Linked DNA regions of Homo sapiens: region 2 is linked to region 1. The links are contacts of gene promoters, found by promoter capture Hi-C in blood cells and fetal thymus (Javierre and others, 2016). All regions are on one chromosome and are shown on one strand. The core of a region is centred on a gene start or on the middle of the fragment in contact, and the rest is flanking DNA. Distances in the headings are between cores, read along the strand shown. Region 1 holds the start of MRPL14 (mitochondrial ribosomal protein L14). Region 2 overlaps POLH (DNA polymerase eta).

Region 1 (3,122 bases), core at 558-3,057:
GTAGCTGGGATTACAGGTGTGTGCCACCATGCCCGGCTAATTTTTGTATTTTTAGTAGCGATGGGGTTTCACCATGTTGGCCAGGCTGGTCTCGAACTCCTGACCTCAAGTGATCTGTCCGCCTCAGTCTCCCAAAGTGCTGGAATTATAGGCATAAACACTTTTTAATGAAAACTGAGGTTCAGACAGGTTAAGTAACTTGTCAAGGTCACACAGCTGAAGAATAGTAGAGCTAGAATTTGAACGCAGGTCTCTAAGACTCTGCTATACTTGGAGAGAACTTGAATGATGTCCAAGGGGGTTCTTAGTTACCCACTGCCTGCCTTCTGCCTTGCCATGTCCCCATCCACCCACAGGCCAAGACTGCACTGAGTGAGCCAACAGCAGGCCCCAGCATGTGCCACCTGGGGCATGCCAAGGCCTGGACCCTCTGGTGCCCTGGAGGACAATCACGCTGCCAGCACACCCCCACTTGAAGCCTGGCTGACACTCCCACTCCCCACCTCACCCTGGCCTGGGAGGCAGGATGGGCCCCTCTTCAGCAGGTGTTGGGCACAGCCTCATTGCTCCCCGGCTGCTGCAGACTGGTAATGGGTAGGCAAGCCCCAGCCCCCCAGGGCGGTGGAGTGCTCAGGCTTGCCCCGAGCGGCCAGACCTCTGCCCAGGGGACCCAGGCAGGGGGCAGCACAGCGCCCCAAGGGCAGCCAGCCCCTCTGACCTCTCCTCCCCACTTCCCAAGCGTCCTTTCCTTTTCTGGGGAACAAGGTGCCAAGCTTTGGGACTGTCCGCCTTAGGCGGTCAAGACAGCCAGGAGGGACAAAGCGGCGCCCCCTCCCCACAACAGGGCCTTTGCCCCACTCTCGGTTTCGCGTCTGAATCTTTTCCCCACCGCACCCTCCAACGCAGGCCCGGGCGGCTCATGAATGAACTGCACTGTGTGGGGCGCAAGGAGAGGACACGCTCCCGGGGCCGGCCGCCTCTCCAGCCCGCCGACCAGTCAGTCCCCAGAGCCGGGGGCAGCGGCCGGCCTCGTGCCAGCACCTGCGAACCCTGCCCTTGCCCGAGCCCGAGCCCTTACCCCGGACCGGCTTCGGGTGTACTCGCCCCCGGGAGCAGCAGAAAAAATAAAAGGCACAGAAGGCATCGGACTTGGCGACCCCGGGGTCCAAAACTCGGGGGCGGGGGCGGCTAGTTCCCCAAACGGCGGCGGACAGGCGGGGCGCAGCTGGCACCCCCGAGGGTCGCGCAGGGGACGCGCACCTGCACCGGGCAGGTGGGAGAAGAGTGGCACTCGGGGGCCGGGGGCGGGGGTCCCACCCTTTGGGATCTCCCCGGGGCTGGGGAGAGCCGGCGGCGCGTATCTGGACCTCCGGCAGGGGTTGGAGGACTCACATTTGGCTCGGGATGGTGCGGGGTTGGGGGCAGCGCGCGCCACCCCTGGGTCCCGCGGGCCCGGGCACCTCTGGGTCCCGCAGGAGGTTGAAGGGAGGGGACGCGCAGCTGAGTCCAGGTTTTTTCTTTGGGTGGTGGTGGGATCTTCGAAGAAAAGAGCGAGGGCTGGGTAGGGGTCGCGTACTCACCCCCAGGCGCAGACTCGGCTCCGGCTCGGAGCCCCGGGTTGGGGCGGGGCGGGGCTGGGGGAGGGGGAGGGGGAGTCGCTGGGCGGCTCGAGCTCCGGGCTCCTGCGGCGGCCGCGGCAGTGTATGGGGGAGGGGGAGCGGGGGGAGGGAGGGGGAGGGGGCGGAGCCCCGCAGGTCCCGCCCCGCACGCCGGCGCACGCAAGGTGCGCGCGCACTCTCAGATCGCGTCCGCCGGGCTGGGCCTGGCGCGCAGGCGCTAGGAAGAGGCCGCGTGGGGCGAAGGCGGCGCTTGGCTGGTGGGGCCCGCGGCGGGATTTTCCCGGGCGGCGAGAGCGGTATGGTGGGGGGCAGGGGTGGGCGTTAAGTCCTCATTCCCTCCTTCTCCTCTTCCTTTCTCTGCAGTAGGGGAGGCCCACTCCCCGGGGTGAGTGAGGAGAGGCCAGAGTGGGAGGCAGAGCGTCAGTGGGAGGGGTCCCGACGGGGAGGGGGGGGTCCCGACGGGGAGGGGGGTCCCGACGGGGAGGGGAGGCCCCTTACCCGGATCCTCCTCCCTTCCGCTCTCCGTGGGCTGCTTCTGCGACCCCCAAGTCCGTGGCCGGCGCTCACCTGCTTTCCCCGGGTTGCGGCGTCGACTTGGGGAGGGCGGGCTGCGTTCAGCCGTCGCTGGTCACTCCGGAGCGTCTCCTCCGGCTTCTCCGCTTTCCGCGCTCCCCTCCCCTTTCCCAACTTAGGTCTGGAGATGAGTTAGCCAGACGCCTCTGTGGTGTGAGGATTGAGTTTTTGCTTTCACTCTGTCAACGCTGATGAGTGCGCCCTCCCCCAGGCCAGGGGGTTCCCTGGTTTCTTATTTCACCAGAGACTGCATCTACCAGTGATTAAGACTGGAAAGATGAAGGGAGAGACTGAGACTCTTTCTATATATCACCCACACAAATAGATCATAAAGGCACAACGGGCACCAACCTGGTCATTTAATTTCTGGTTCCTGGAGGGGACAAAAAGGAAGTATTGCTTTCCACAGCCGACGATAAATGAACTTTGCCACCGTAAGAGACGGACGGGACTGAATTTATAAAGAGGTTAAAAGGGCATATGACAGACACCTCAGGCTACTTGGGAAACTCTGGGAGTTTGGGAGATAATTAACTCTCAGGGCTGGTGGTGGTGGGGAACTGCCACTGCTGAACAGAAGGACACTGCCCACCTGGGGGGTTTGGATCTTGTAGTTGGTCAGCGTCTCTGCTGTATGCTGGATTTTCAAGAGTTCATTAGTAGCTTGTGGAATGCAACTGTAAGGTTTGATTTATTGCAGTGTTTTTCAAACTGAATCCTATTGGTGAGTTGGAAATCAGTTTAGTAGATCACGGCCACTTGAAATAGAAAATATCAGAGGGTGTTGCACTTAGGGTATTGTTTCTTGACACTTCAGGTGTACACACACGTGTGAGTGTACTAGGAGGTGTTCTACAGTGTGTTTCTGTAGGTCGCAGTGAGAAAAATTTGAAAAGCGTTGTCTCCTGTGCCCTTCTATTTGCCCTCTTG
Region 2 (3,375 bases), core at 468-2,967, 530 kb after region 1:
TATTTTTTTTGAGACGGAGTTGCTCTGTTGCCCAGGCTAGAGTGCAGCTCACTGCAACCTCCACCTCCCAGGTTCAAGCAATTATCCTGCTTCAGCCTCCGGAGTAGCTGGGACTACAGCTGTGAACCTTCAGGCCCAGATAATTTTTGTATTTTTAGTAGAGATGGGGTTTCACCATGTTGGCCAGGCTGGTCTTGAACTCCTGACCTCAAGGGCTCCCAAAGTGCTGGGATTACAGGCGTGAGCCACTGTGCCCGGCCAAAAGGTAGTTTTTAAAAATAAAGTTCCTCAGCACAGTGGCTTGCGCATTTTTTGCTTTTTTTTTAATTATCTGTTTTCCTGAAATACCAAGGCTTGCACATATTAAGAACAATAAATACTATTAAAACATCCATCATTTAAAACAATTTATACTAGTATATATTAGCTTTGGGAAACAAAAATATGAATAATTTACTGTAATTGTATGACTTTCTGGACCTTTTTAAACAGTTAGAGCTAAATTTTCTCTGCTTTAGATTTTTTTCATCATTGCTTTCCCAGATTGGGTAATGTTGCAATCCTGTGGCAATGTAGATTTTTAAATTTAATCCTTTATCTGTATTAACTGAACGGGACCACAGAAGATAAGCAGAATTCCCTTATTTCCCTACAATGCTTTTTACCTTTTCTCTAGTTGATAAGAAAAATCTATAAAATTTTGGTTTTTCTTCAATACCATGAAATGGACTACAGGAAATACTTCAGGTAGTTCTGGTGTTAAATGCCCATGAAAGCTGAGAAAAAACTTTTCTTTCTTTCTTTTTTTTTTTTTTTTTTTTTGAGACGGAGTCTCACTCTGTTGCTAGGCTGGAGTACAGTGGCGCAATCTCAGCTCACTGCAACCTCTGCCTCCTGGGTTCAAGTAATTCTCCTGCCTTACCCTCCCGAAAAGCTAGGATTATAGGCATGCGCCACCACACCCAGCTAATTTTTGTATTTTTAGTAGAGACAGGGTCTCACCATGTTGGCCAGGATGGTCTCAATCTCATGACGTCATGATTCGCTCACCCTGGCCTCTCAAAGTGCTGGGATTACAGGCGTGAGCCACTGTGCCCAGCCAAGAGTTTTTCTTGTTGAATTATCTTGGCACCTTTGTGGAAATGAATTGCCACCACACACACCCCAGCCTGAAAAGTGGGGATCTACTTGTATACTTTCTATTCTATACCATTAATCTACGTATTTTCTCACACCAATACCAAACTTCCCTAGTTACAAATTTATAGTTAAATCTTGAAATCAGGTAGTATGTCTTCCAACTTAGTTCTTTTTCAAAGTTGTTTGGCTACTCCACATTCTTTGCATTTCCATACAAATTTTAGAATCAGTTTGTCAATTTCTGTGGGATTTTGGAAGGGACTGCAATGAATCTATACGTCAATTTGGGGAGAATTGAGCACTAGTAAGATTTAGTCTTTTGATACATGAGGATAGTATAATCTTTCCATTGAATTTTATAATCTTTAATAATAATTATATGATCATTATAAGATAAAGCCAGACACAGTGGCACATGCCGATAGTTCCAGCTACTTGGAAGCCTCAAGTGGGAGGATCACTTGAGCATGAGTTCACAGGTAACATGGGCAACACAGTGAGACCCCATCTCAAAAATAATCATTATAAAACTGTTTTGTAAGGCCAGGTGCAGTGGCTCACGCCTATAATCCTGGCACTTTGGGACGCTGAAGTGGGAAAATTGCTTGAGGCCAGGAACTCATCAAGACCAGCCCGGGCAACATAGTGAGACCATGTCTCTGTGTTTTAAAATAATAAAGAAATGAATTAAGAAAAAACAAAGGGAAAAGAAAAGGCCCTTAGCTAACAAACCAGTTACAAAATGGCAATGATGGGAAAGTTTCACCTTGACAATTTCTGAGAAGTACTTTAAGTAAATCTTACTACTTAAACTTTACACACAAATAACTATTTTAGAAAATACAAGGCCAGGCGTAGTGGCTGACGCCTGTAATCCCAGCACTTTGGGAGACCAAGGCGGGCAGATCACGAGGTCAGGAGATCGAGACCATGCTGGCTAACACGGTGAAACCCCGTCTCTACTAAAAAAAATACAAAAAAATTAGCCGGGCGTGGTGGCGGCCAACAGTAGTCCCAGCTACTCGGGAGGCTGAGGCAGGAGAATGGCGTGAACCCGGGAGGTGGAGATTGCAGTGAGCCGAGATTGCACCACTGCACTCCAGCCTGGGCGACAGAGCGAGAAAGAGACTCCCTCTCCAAAAAAAAAAAAAAAAAAGAAGATACAAAGCTGCAAATGCAGGAGGGCTGAGCATGATTGCTAGCTCTTATAGGAGGCAAGATGGAAAAGTTGATGGAAAGCTCAGTATCAAGGTATTACAAATACCTCGCCTCTTTTCTTAGATTTGAAATATATTGTATCCATGAAAAATGATTTCTGGAAGGTTATATCCACTTAGATCAGCTAATTTCTGTTATCAGGTTTTTGTGGTTGCACACATCAAAGATTCAGGAATATGATATGAAATATTTCCTAGACATTGCACTGTTCTGAACATTACATATAATAAGATGCTGGCACTGCATCTGGGAGCTTAATATTTAAGTTGGACACACTAATGCAACAGACACAAGACATACAGAAATAGACCTCTCTATAAACATGGGCATTTTTAATAAAAAAATGTACATAGGTAAGAAAAGTAAGTGTAGAAGAAAGAGGAACACGTCCATCTGAGTTAACATTCAACTACCAAGGAAGGTATATACCATCTTCAGCCAGAGATAATAGAATGCTTCAACAATGCTCTGCAGCAAAAACCAATATAATGTGTAAGACTAGTTCTAATTCTGAGGTATGTGGATTTCAGAGGGTTTGTGAATCTCCTGAAAACTGCATGCAAAATTGTCTTATGTATAGATACAAATTTTTCGGAGGCCAGCAAGGGTCTATAGCTTTCAACAAATTTTTAAGAGTATGTAATTCTCAAATAAACTTTAAAGAGCCACAAATTCAAGGCATTATAAAACCAATTCCAAATATTTAAAAAAAAAAAAAAAATCAGGCTGGGTGCGGTGGCTCATGCCTGTAATCCCAGCACTTTGGGAGGCCAAGGCAGATGGATAACTTGATGCCAGGAGTTTGAGACCAGCCTGACCAACATGGCGAAACCCCGTCTCTACTAAAAATACAAAACTTAGCCAGCATGGTGGCATATGCCTATAATCCCAGCTACTCAGGAGGTTGAGGCATGAGGATCACTTGAACCCTGGAGGTGGAGGCTGCAGTGTGCCAAGATCTCACAACTGCATTCCAGCCTGGGTGACACCAAAAAAATCAGTGTTGCATATGGAAAC

Evidence for each region. The method cuts DNA at HindIII sites, captures the fragments that hold promoters and counts their contacts. A CHiCAGO score of 5 or more calls a contact.
Region 2: a contact is called between a fragment that was not itself captured here and the fragment with the promoter of MRPL14 in region 1, in 2 of 17 cell types (erythroblasts and M2 macrophages). The highest score is 5.4, in erythroblasts.

What each region holds. Positions count from the first base shown.
Region 1 is chr6:44,126,137-44,129,258 of GRCh38, reverse strand. It overlaps MRPL14 (mitochondrial ribosomal protein L14), which reads left to right and starts at 1,807. Exons shown (of 3, transcript NM_032111.4): 1 at 1,807-1,915. TMEM63B (transmembrane protein 63B) reads right to left here and starts at 1,705. Exons shown (of 24, transcript NM_018426.3): 1 at 1,581-1,705. RefSeq lists silencers at 1,025-1,184, 1,365-1,474, 1,515-1,914, 1,935-1,984, 2,015-2,074. The HindIII fragment of the contact is 11,989 bases long and covers 776-3,122 here.
Region 2 is chr6:43,591,326-43,594,700 of GRCh38, reverse strand. The region is part of intron 4 of POLH (DNA polymerase eta); the gene reads right to left. Among named protein-coding and RNA genes, the nearest start is that of POLH, 17 kb to the right of the region's middle. The HindIII fragment of the contact is 3,573 bases long and covers 1-3,375 here.